Regions from separate parts of the Homo sapiens genome. Here region 1 is linked to region 2. The links are contacts of gene promoters, found by promoter capture Hi-C in blood cells and fetal thymus (Javierre and others, 2016). All regions are on one chromosome and are shown on one strand. Each heading gives the region's core, a stretch centred on a gene start or on the middle of the fragment in contact. The rest is flanking DNA. Distances are from core to core; before and after follow the strand shown. Region 1 overlaps PDP1 (pyruvate dehydrogenase phosphatase catalytic subunit 1). Region 2 holds the start of OTUD6B (OTU deubiquitinase 6B).

What was found. The method cuts DNA at HindIII sites, captures the fragments that hold promoters and counts their contacts. A CHiCAGO score of 5 or more calls a contact.
Region 1: a contact is called between a fragment that was not itself captured here and the fragment with the promoter of OTUD6B in region 2, in 1 of 17 cell types (total CD8 T cells). The highest score is 7.8, in total CD8 T cells.

The regions. Positions count from the first base shown.
Region 1 is chr8:93,920,529-93,925,870 of GRCh38, forward strand. It overlaps PDP1 (pyruvate dehydrogenase phosphatase catalytic subunit 1), which reads left to right. Exons shown (of 2, transcript NM_018444.4): 2 at 1,488-5,342. The coding sequence starts at 1,532. The coding sequence ends at 3,145. Among named protein-coding and RNA genes, the nearest start is that of PDP1, 6.3 kb to the left of the region's middle. The HindIII fragment of the contact is 3,370 bases long and covers 516-3,885 here.
Region 2 is chr8:91,068,390-91,073,391 of GRCh38, forward strand. It overlaps OTUD6B (OTU deubiquitinase 6B), which reads left to right and starts at 1,955. Exons shown (of 7, transcript NM_016023.5): 1 at 1,955-2,077; 2 at 2,749-2,900. The coding sequence starts at 1,996. It overlaps OTUD6B-AS1 (OTUD6B antisense RNA 1), which reads right to left and starts at 1,800. Exons shown (of 3, transcript NR_110438.1): 1 at 1,542-1,800; 2 at 1,190-1,433. RefSeq lists an enhancer at 2,003-2,182. The HindIII fragment of the contact is 11,349 bases long and covers 1-3,442 here.

The DNA of each region.
Region 1 (5,342 bases), core at 951-3,450, 2.9 Mb after region 2:
TTTTTTTCTTGCCCAAATTATCTAGATTAATGATATATTCATTAAATTTCCCAAATAAATGCCCAGAAATTATTTTCAGCGCACATAGTGAGTGATAGGATTTTTTTTAAGTTTGTAATTATATTGCTGTACCTTTTCAATCCAAACCTTAGACTATTATTTGACTATACTGCTTCCCTGGAGCAAGTAAATACCTTTTTTTTTTTTTTTTAATGTGAGAGAAAACATTTTTGGTCTTTTAAAATTTATTTTTAATTTACAATTGACACATAATATTATATATTTATGGGGTACAATGTGATGTTTCAGTGCATGTATATATTGGTAGACATTGTGTAATGATCAAATCAGAGTGATTACCATATCCAAGAAAACATTTTTCTAGGGGTTAATTCTACTTTGGATCCATAGTAGATGAAAATACTTCTATGGGTTTTCCTTATAGCTGCTAAGCAGGGAACATTGTTAGTAGGTAAATTAAGTTCTAGGACTGAAACCATTTATGTTACTAACAAAGCTTTAGAGCTACTGCAATACTTAAACTTTTTTTTTTTTTTTAATCATGAAGGGCACGGTAGAATTCAACAGTGAATAAATGAAACCTGAATTTTATTTAAAAACCTCACTTCCATAAGCATAAAGGCATGAATCCTAGAAGAGCCTTAGATAGCATCTGCTCTGTTGATGTTCCTTTACAGGTTAGAAGAGTGAGACTCAAAGATGTGAGCTGACTTTTCCAAGATTATTTGGGAGTTGGTGGCAGACCTATGCCCGTTAGCCTGGCAAATTGCCACAGTGGACTAGAGAAGCAAGTTTTGCAAGACCATCTACTGGGGTACAGGAGAGAAATACTGGAATTTCTTTTTTTATTTAATTATGTAGAAATTTTTCTATATATGTTACAATGCATATTACTGTAGTCATATATGTATATGATGTACACGTAATTCATAAATACACATATGTTTGGCTGCCTCTTAACATTTTTGGTCATAGCCATGTGTAATCATGCCAAAAATTGACCACAGGTCTATGTAAAGGGTCTTCATAAATGGAAGAAGTCCCTGTGTAAAATGGGAGATTTCAAGGCATTTTTTAAGAATAGGGAGGGAGAAGGATGATTGGTCAGGTAGACGGCTACTGCATAATGTTATATAACCTTCATCTCCTCAGCTTTCCCCAGCCAAATCTGTTGTACATTCTGCACAGTTTGTACTGCACAAAGGACGACAAAGAAAAGAGAAAATTGAAGTTTGAGTATAGGAGCCAGGAGTTCAGTCGTGGTTCCACGAATGATTGGGAGTTGTGCCTGCCAGAATATACCCTGTAGAAATAGTACATGATGTGTGTATAAAATGTAGTACCTTCTAGCAAAGGCTTAACATGTAGATTGACTTGCTTAATATTTGTTATAAAGGCAAAGCTAGATTAAGTATCCTGAAATGTAACTCTTTCCTTTGTGTACATCTGTCTAATTTGCTGTCTAGGAATCCCAGTCAGAAGTTCCAGCCTGCCACTGTTCTCTGATGCCATGCCAGCACCAACTCAACTGTTTTTTCCTCTCATCCGTAACTGTGAACTGAGCAGGATCTATGGCACTGCATGTTACTGCCACCACAAACATCTCTGTTGTTCCTCATCGTACATTCCTCAGAGTCGACTGAGATACACACCTCATCCAGCATATGCTACCTTTTGCAGGCCAAAGGAGAACTGGTGGCAGTACACCCAAGGAAGGAGATATGCTTCCACACCACAGAAATTTTACCTCACACCTCCACAAGTCAATAGCATCCTTAAAGCTAATGAATACAGTTTCAAAGTGCCAGAATTTGACGGCAAAAATGTCAGTTCTATCCTTGGATTTGACAGCAATCAGCTGCCTGCAAATGCACCCATTGAGGACCGGAGAAGTGCAGCAACCTGCTTGCAGACCAGAGGGATGCTTTTGGGGGTTTTTGATGGCCATGCAGGTTGTGCTTGTTCCCAGGCAGTCAGTGAAAGACTCTTTTATTATATTGCTGTCTCTTTGTTACCCCATGAGACTTTGCTAGAGATTGAAAATGCAGTGGAGAGCGGCCGGGCACTGCTACCCATTCTCCAGTGGCACAAGCACCCCAATGATTACTTTAGTAAGGAGGCATCCAAATTGTACTTTAACAGCTTGAGGACTTACTGGCAAGAGCTTATAGACCTCAACACTGGTGAGTCGACTGATATTGATGTTAAGGAGGCTCTAATTAATGCCTTCAAGAGGCTTGATAATGACATCTCCTTGGAGGCGCAAGTTGGTGATCCTAATTCTTTTCTCAACTACCTGGTGCTTCGAGTGGCATTTTCTGGAGCCACTGCTTGTGTGGCCCATGTGGATGGTGTTGACCTTCATGTGGCCAATACTGGCGATAGCAGAGCCATGCTGGGTGTGCAGGAAGAGGACGGCTCATGGTCAGCAGTCACGCTGTCTAATGACCACAATGCTCAAAATGAAAGAGAACTAGAACGGCTGAAATTGGAACATCCAAAGAGTGAGGCCAAGAGTGTCGTGAAACAGGATCGGCTGCTTGGCTTGCTGATGCCATTTAGGGCATTTGGAGATGTAAAGTTCAAATGGAGCATTGACCTTCAAAAGAGAGTGATAGAATCTGGCCCAGACCAGTTGAATGACAATGAATATACCAAGTTTATTCCTCCTAATTATCACACACCTCCTTATCTCACTGCTGAGCCAGAGGTAACTTACCACCGATTAAGGCCACAGGATAAGTTTCTGGTGTTGGCTACTGATGGGTTGTGGGAGACTATGCATAGGCAGGATGTGGTTAGGATTGTGGGTGAGTACCTAACTGGCATGCATCACCAACAGCCAATAGCTGTTGGTGGCTACAAGGTGACTCTGGGACAGATGCATGGCCTTTTAACAGAAAGGAGAACCAAAATGTCCTCGGTATTTGAGGATCAGAACGCAGCAACCCATCTCATTCGCCACGCTGTGGGCAACAACGAGTTTGGGACTGTTGATCATGAGCGCCTCTCTAAAATGCTTAGTCTTCCTGAAGAGCTTGCTCGAATGTACAGAGATGACATTACAATCATTGTAGTTCAGTTCAATTCTCATGTTGTAGGGGCGTATCAAAACCAAGAATAGTGAGTGGCTCTTTCACTGGCAATTCTCAAATGATATACATTTAAAGGGCAGATTTTTTAAAAAGATACTACTATAATAAACATTTCCAGTTGGTCATTCTAAGCATTTACCCTTTTGATACTCTAGCTAGTCAGGTACTCCAAATTGACTTTGCAGCAGGGTGGCAGGGTCAGGAGAGTCTGGTCCTGCCTAGCTCAGATTTCATGGCACCTGCACTTGAAGCAAGTCACTTCTTTATCACAGGTGTCTTGAAACATTAGCTTCTTTTACCAACCTGAGAAAATTAGGATGACCTGGCAAATAAGATCTTGAATAGGCCAAAAGCAAGTATCTTGCTGTGTGTAGTCTCTTGGTTAAAGTGAAGAAACAGTACTGTTCACACCTTTCTTCACTGAGATTCCAGTGTACATGAGAACATATATTTATTGCATGATTTTCTAGATACACAGTCTATGCATTATTCATATACATTTATTTTAGCCTAAAGTGGTTTTCAAATCCAGTTCTTCAAGCCATAAATGACCAAGATCCAAGCAATCTGAATTTGTTTTTGTGATTATTTGACTGGAATGCTTCTTAAGTGGAATAACTATACTCCGTTATCCACCCGATTTCCTAATGTAATTGAAAGATTTTCTATTTTGCCACACACTTGGAGACAATAAGGGTTTTTAGTTTTATCTACTCTTCTATTGAAGTTAAAGAAAGAAAAAAAGATTTTTTTATTTGTATTAATGAAAAGCTTTAGTTTAAAATAAGGAGATCCAGAATAAAAAGAAGAGACTGATCTCTTCAATTATTGTCATCTGTAGCCACCAGCACATCACTCTTATGTAATCCCCAAAGGCTTGGCATGCCGTAAGTGTGTGGTGGGTAGACTGCTGCCGGGGAATCGTACTTCTTATTTAGTAATGATAAGACTTTTCATTATTTTTGGAATTTTAAAGATGACATAAATAAGTTTAAATATCAATTTGGGGAGTAAGGTTTAATATTGCCATCGGGTATTGAGACAGGAGGAAGTTTCTGTTTTTCTCCATTTAGACATAGGTCAATTAAAATATTTGGGTTTAAAATGACTAAATGCTTTAAACATATTGTAGCTTAAGATATATGTGTTAAGATATATACATGAGAAACTTTAAAAGGTAACTACTGTGCATGCCTGATGCTTAATAGAATACTTAGTGGCATCAAATGTTTGCAGCAGTCTCCATAATTATATTCAGTCCCTTCTAATACTGTATCAATGTAAATGAAATAAATATATTCAAATTGGCTTTTTGATATGCATCAAGTGGCATTTTGTTCCTGTGTTTAATAGTGATCTGTATACAGCTGTGCACATATTGTCATCACTTATTCTAGCATCACTGTTAAGGCTGTGATTATGTTTGATATTCACCTGGATTTTAATACAAGCCAATATCAGCTTCCCATTGTGTAATAACTTGGGTGTTTAGGAGTCTTTTCACATTTTTTGGGGATATGAACTAGATGTTCAAGAACTCCTTCTGGACTGTGGATACTGAATCAGTGTACTATTGGCTGCAGAATTTGTTTCAATTGAAAATAGACTCAGGAAGATTGCTGCTCAGAATATCATATAATGTTTATTTTTTGAGGTGTTTTTGTTTTTATTTGTGTGTTTTTTTTTTTTTAAGTCAGCTTGGAACTTTTTTCCTGGGTAGTATTTGGGAGAGGGAAAGGCTGTACTATATATTTATTTCTAAATGTTTTGACTGGGCATTTTTCTTTTAATGAAATATGTGGACTGCTCTAGCAAACCCTATTTTCAGCTACTATTTGAATATTCTTGAACACCACCACTGAAGAGTTTCATATACACCAAATAATGTCTCATCTCTATAGTACAGGGAATATAAAATTGGTTTCCTGTGGTCATGATCAAGATAGTAGTATTATTACACAAGAAACTTGGTCTGCAGTCTGGAAGCTTGTCTGCTCTATAGAAATGAAAATGCAGCATGAAGTTGACATTGTGGAAATGAAAGTAATTGGGTATTAGAAATCTGAAAGTACTGTCATCTAAAAGCAATTGTGATTTTATTGTAATTGGTTGTCACTGTTGTACGGTGTCTAGAATTAAAGAATACATGTAAACTTTCATGGTATTTAGCCTTTCTTAAATTTTTTTAAAATTTAAACTTTCTAACCTATGTATTCAACTTCTGTA
Region 2 (5,002 bases), core at 705-3,204:
ATTGGAATGTATATATTCTATTTTTGTAGTTAACACTTATTTCCATGTCAAATTTACTTGGAACTATATGATTTACTTGGAACTATATGATGCAGTAACTACTGTTTTTCCCCATGCATCATGTACAGAAAATGAGGATGTATCCACCCCCTCCCAAACCAGTGATTTGGAAGTTTCTTTACAGTATCAGTAGTAACATGGACAAACTTGTTATTTTTTTCCTGCTATACTTAAAAATAAGGGAAATAAAACTGTACTGTTTTCCAATTGTCAGATTTGACATTTAGAATGTTATTTGTCAAATCTACAGTGACAAAGCCCTTTTACTTAGGTTTAGCTTAAGAACATGCGTATTTGTATCTACAATACTACATGCTAAAAATAAAACAGTATTTGTCCAATATATTGAACATGTGGTATGCCCTTCCAGTTTAAACGTAAACTGAAATTTTACACCCAGCTTATGTTTCTATTTTTGTATTTAGTTTTAATGCCCTATACATAACAATTTAAACTTAATGCTCCTTAACTAGTTTTAATGCATACCATCAGTTCTTTCATACAATTGCCTCCCTATTCTTATTTTAATTCAGGTTCTCTGTTAGCTGCAGTAAATCCTTCAGCAAAATTTTCAGGGAAAGTTCTTGGTTGATATACTTTCCTAACCCCTGTATATCTAAGAATGTCTTCCAGTTTCCTTTGTAAAGAAATGATAACTTGGCAGAGTATATAATTCTTGGCTCAAAATTATTTTCCCTTAACACTCTAGATATTGTTCCACTGTCTTCTGGCATTTAGAATTGCAGGAGAAAAATCTGAGGTCAGCCTGACTTTTGCCCCTTTGTAAGTAACCTGCTTTCTCTGACTGGATGCTTGTAAAATGTTTCGTCTTTGAAATTCAAAAACGTCACCCGGATATGTCTAGATGCTGCTTTCTTTTCATTAAACTTTAAAGGTATCCTATGAGCCTTTTCCATTTGTAGATCTAGTTCGTTCTTCAATTCTGGAAAATTTTTTCAAGTAGATCCTTTATTGTTTCAGCTCCACTTGCTCTGTCCTCAGTTTCAGGTATTCCTATTATGCATAGATTGTATCTCCTGGACCGGCCCTCTAGATCTCTCTTTTTCTCCTCTTAATTTCTTTTCCCCTTTTCTCTGTATTCTGTGACAATTTGTCGTTTTGCACTTACTTCAGTAATTCGATTTTGTGGCCAATCCAGCGTGCGCCCTTCTGTTAACTCTCTCAACTTCCTGGTATTTTCCAAGCGCTCTAATAGTACCCTCTTTATCATCGCGCATAGGTGTTTAAGCTCCTGTATTATATGATTCTCAATCCTTCTTATATCTTGTTTCCATCTCTATATCCGTTTCAAGAGGAGGCATTTTCTCGATTATTTAGCGCTGCTCCTTTTTTCTCAGGGGCGGTATTACGACCTTGGAGACAATAAACATAATTTAATTCCACACAGCCCCAAACAGCCCAAAGATTCCCATTGATAATTATCGACGGCTTTATTAAAATGCGTTATTTTTCTTTCTTACCTTTTCAGTTGCTTTTCTTAGAAACAGGGACCAAAATCAAAGATTAAAGAGGTCCTCTGAAGCAGGGAATGAAATAGACGTTGAAAACTATTCCCGTTACGCCATCTCTGCGCGCCTCACGTCAGGGCCAAGAGCCTAGCGCGTAGCTTTATGGCTGACTCGGCTCTGGCGCTCTAGCCAATTCCGAGGCTGCAAACTCCGCTTCTCCGCTCGCAGTCTGGTTCCTCCCCTGCCGCCCCGCCCATCACGGCAGGGTCACGGTAGCGCGCACGCGCAGCACCCCATTTAAGTTTCTCGTCTTTGCAGTGGCTTTGCTTAGATCCGGTGCCGCCTTGAAGGCGGGGCTGGGTCCCAGCCGTAGCCAATGGAGCCCCGGGTGAGGGTTGAGGGGTGGAAGGTGCCTACTAGCCGGTGCAGGTTTCTTCTAGCGCGTGTGCTGGGGTACCTGGTCGTCATGGAGGCGGTATTGACCGAAGAGCTTGATGAGGAAGAGCAGCTGCTGAGAAGGCATCGCAAAGAGAAGAAGGAGTTGCAAGGTGAGGCGGAAGGAAGTGGGAATCTGGAAGCCGCCGCGACTGGGGGAAGGGCGCGTGGCGGGTCGATTCTGGGGAATCTCAAGGCGTGACTTATCTGGATCACCCTAGACTTCCCCTAGTAGCAAGTGGCCTCTTCTCTCTTCACCTACCCCGGCGGCCCTTTAATTCCCCAACCTTCAGAGGCTTCCCCTTCTGAGGCCTGCGGCGTGCCCCCTACCCCGCGCCGCCGCCGGGGTGCAGGTGTCTGAAAATACCTAGAAGCCGCCGTCTTGGTCCGCTCCCAAACCCACGATGCCTCCCTTTTCTATACCTGCCCCAGTTACCGATACTTGTCCCTAATGGGTGTATTTTGAATGGACCCGCCTCAGTTTAGGAGGTTCAGAAAGGATACCGGAAAGATTTAAAACTGGCTACAGTCAGGTTTTTTTCCTTCTCTTATCTCGCCAAACAACCGAAACATATTCAAGATTTTGTTAATGAAGTTTTTTTTTTTTTTGGTCTCAGCTTTATCTGGGATCTTCTCTCTCTGTAGCTGCCTGTTACGTGATGACTCTTTCTTCCATAATTACTTTTTCTGTACCCTTCGCCCGTTACCATCCCCTTATTGGTTCCTGTTTCTCATCTCCTTTTACTCCTGCGTGTCTGACTTAATGATTTTAATGGCTTTTCAGCCAAAATTCAGGGCATGAAGAATGCTGTTCCCAAGAATGACAAGAAGAGGAGGAAGCAACTCACCGAAGATGTGGCCAAGTTGGAAAAAGAAATGGAACAGAAACATAGAGAGGAACTGGAGCAATTGAAGCTGACTACTAAGGAGAATAAGGTATGTGAAATAAATGTTTGTCGTTGCCTACACCATTTGAAAACAGCTGTCCACTTCTGTTAAATGTTAAACTGCTTTTTTTTTTTTTTTTGAGACGGTGTCTCGCTTTGCAAAACACGCTCAATCTTGGCTCACTGCAAGCTCCGCCTCCCGGGTTCAGGCCATTCTCCTGCCTCAGCCTCCCGAGTAGCTGGTACTACGGGCGCCCGCCACTACGCCCGGCTAATTTTTTGTATTTTTAGTAGAGACAGGGTTTCACCATGTTAGCCAAGACGGTGTCGATCTCCTGACCTTGTGATCCACCCGCCTCGGCCTCCCAAAGTGCTGGGATTACAGGCGTGAGCCACCGTGCCCGGCCCTGTTAAACTGTTTATTATCTAAAATCATAAAATTGGTAGGGAAATGAAATCACTTAGTTATGCTCATGCATCACTTCTCATTAATGTTTTTGTGACCAAGTTTACAGGGCAGTGTGTTTCTATAAGGGAGATCGGCAAAGAAAGTGCTATACTTCTTTACCTATTTACTTGCCCAAAAGATGAAGCTTCACCAAATCAAAGTTGGAAGACCAGGCATCTGATCCCAGAATTGCGACTGAATGGGATTGTAACCTGAGCAAGGTTACTTAATCTTTCTGAGCTCAAATTTTCCCACATATATAATACGATACAAATATTTCTACACTCTAAGCACAGGTTTTTGTAAGAATCAAGAAAGTGAACGTGAAGTCATTTTTGTTATAAAAGTGCTTTATTAACAAGTTGTAATGAATGAAATTTTACTGATGTTTCTTGGGTAAGTTGGAGCATCCTAACTTTCATAATTTTAACTAATATTTATTTTATCGTTGGATCTAATATATATGTGTCAAATACTTTGGTTTATATGTATTATCTCATTTAACCTCAGTAACACACTGTGAGGTATTACCTATGAAGTAAGTATACATAATCCCATTTTTCAAGTGGGAAACAGGGTTAGAGAGATTAAGAACTTTGTCCAGGAGTCGTAACAGCTGTTGATTGCCAAAGCCAGAATTCCAAATGAGAACTATCTTACTCCAGGAAGTGAATACTGAATTCTGTTACAGCTTTGTATAGTGTGGTATTTATTGTATGGGTTTTGGATATGAAGGGTCATATAGACCCCACAACCTCACTCCATCTTTGATAGAAAGTTCTTATGTCTATGTAAAATCTTAATCTGCCATACTTAAATTTTGGTTGATTTTTGGTTTGCTGTTGACAAGTACAGCTTGTCTGTGCTTTTTATAATGGTCCTTACATTAAATATAGTCTAAATTTCTTTAACTTTGTTAGTTATCAAGTTCCCAACTTTCCTTGCCTTTAATGTACTTCATCTCCAGGTAACAAGGCATATATGATACTCCAGGCGTTAAATTGTGTTGTGACAATTGTGTTCCTAATTGTCTCCCCATCTTTTCTATTAATGAGATAGTTTTGTTTGCTCCCTCAGACCTTTCCATTTTGAGGTTTCTTTCCCAGGTTTCCAAGGACAAAAATGTTTGATTCATAAGCTACATGGAGTCCTACTGTTAAAACACAAACTCCCATTTTAGTTTGAACTATTTATCTGTTTCATTAATTTAAATTGGTTTTCTTTTCTGAATACTACCAAAAACTAATGCCATTGCTTTTTTGTTTTTCAGATGCATCTCTTTTATCTTGCCTATTGTCAATATAGATGTTTGTAAATTTTAACAGCTTCCTCTGAAGAATCACAGGACTCCTAATTTCACTATAGTTGATAGCCACTCTTTGAAGTCTCTATCTGATTTTGATATTTTGATCATTTGGGACACAGCCTTTGCAGACTTCTGTCTCTGTGTATTAAAGGCCTTGAGTTGTTCTATGCATGTGTTATACTAAAAACTGGCTTACCTTAGAGTTGCAGTAATAATGGCTACTCATCCTTATAGTTAAAAGTCTAGCATCTTTTTTTTTACTCTAGCAAACACACACTAGCCATTTAGGATTGATTATAATATCAAATGATATTACAAATTAAATATATTTTCTGCCTGCAGTTATCAGTTTGTAGATGGAAAAGGGTAGGGTAGGAAAAGCTCAACTTGCTACTAG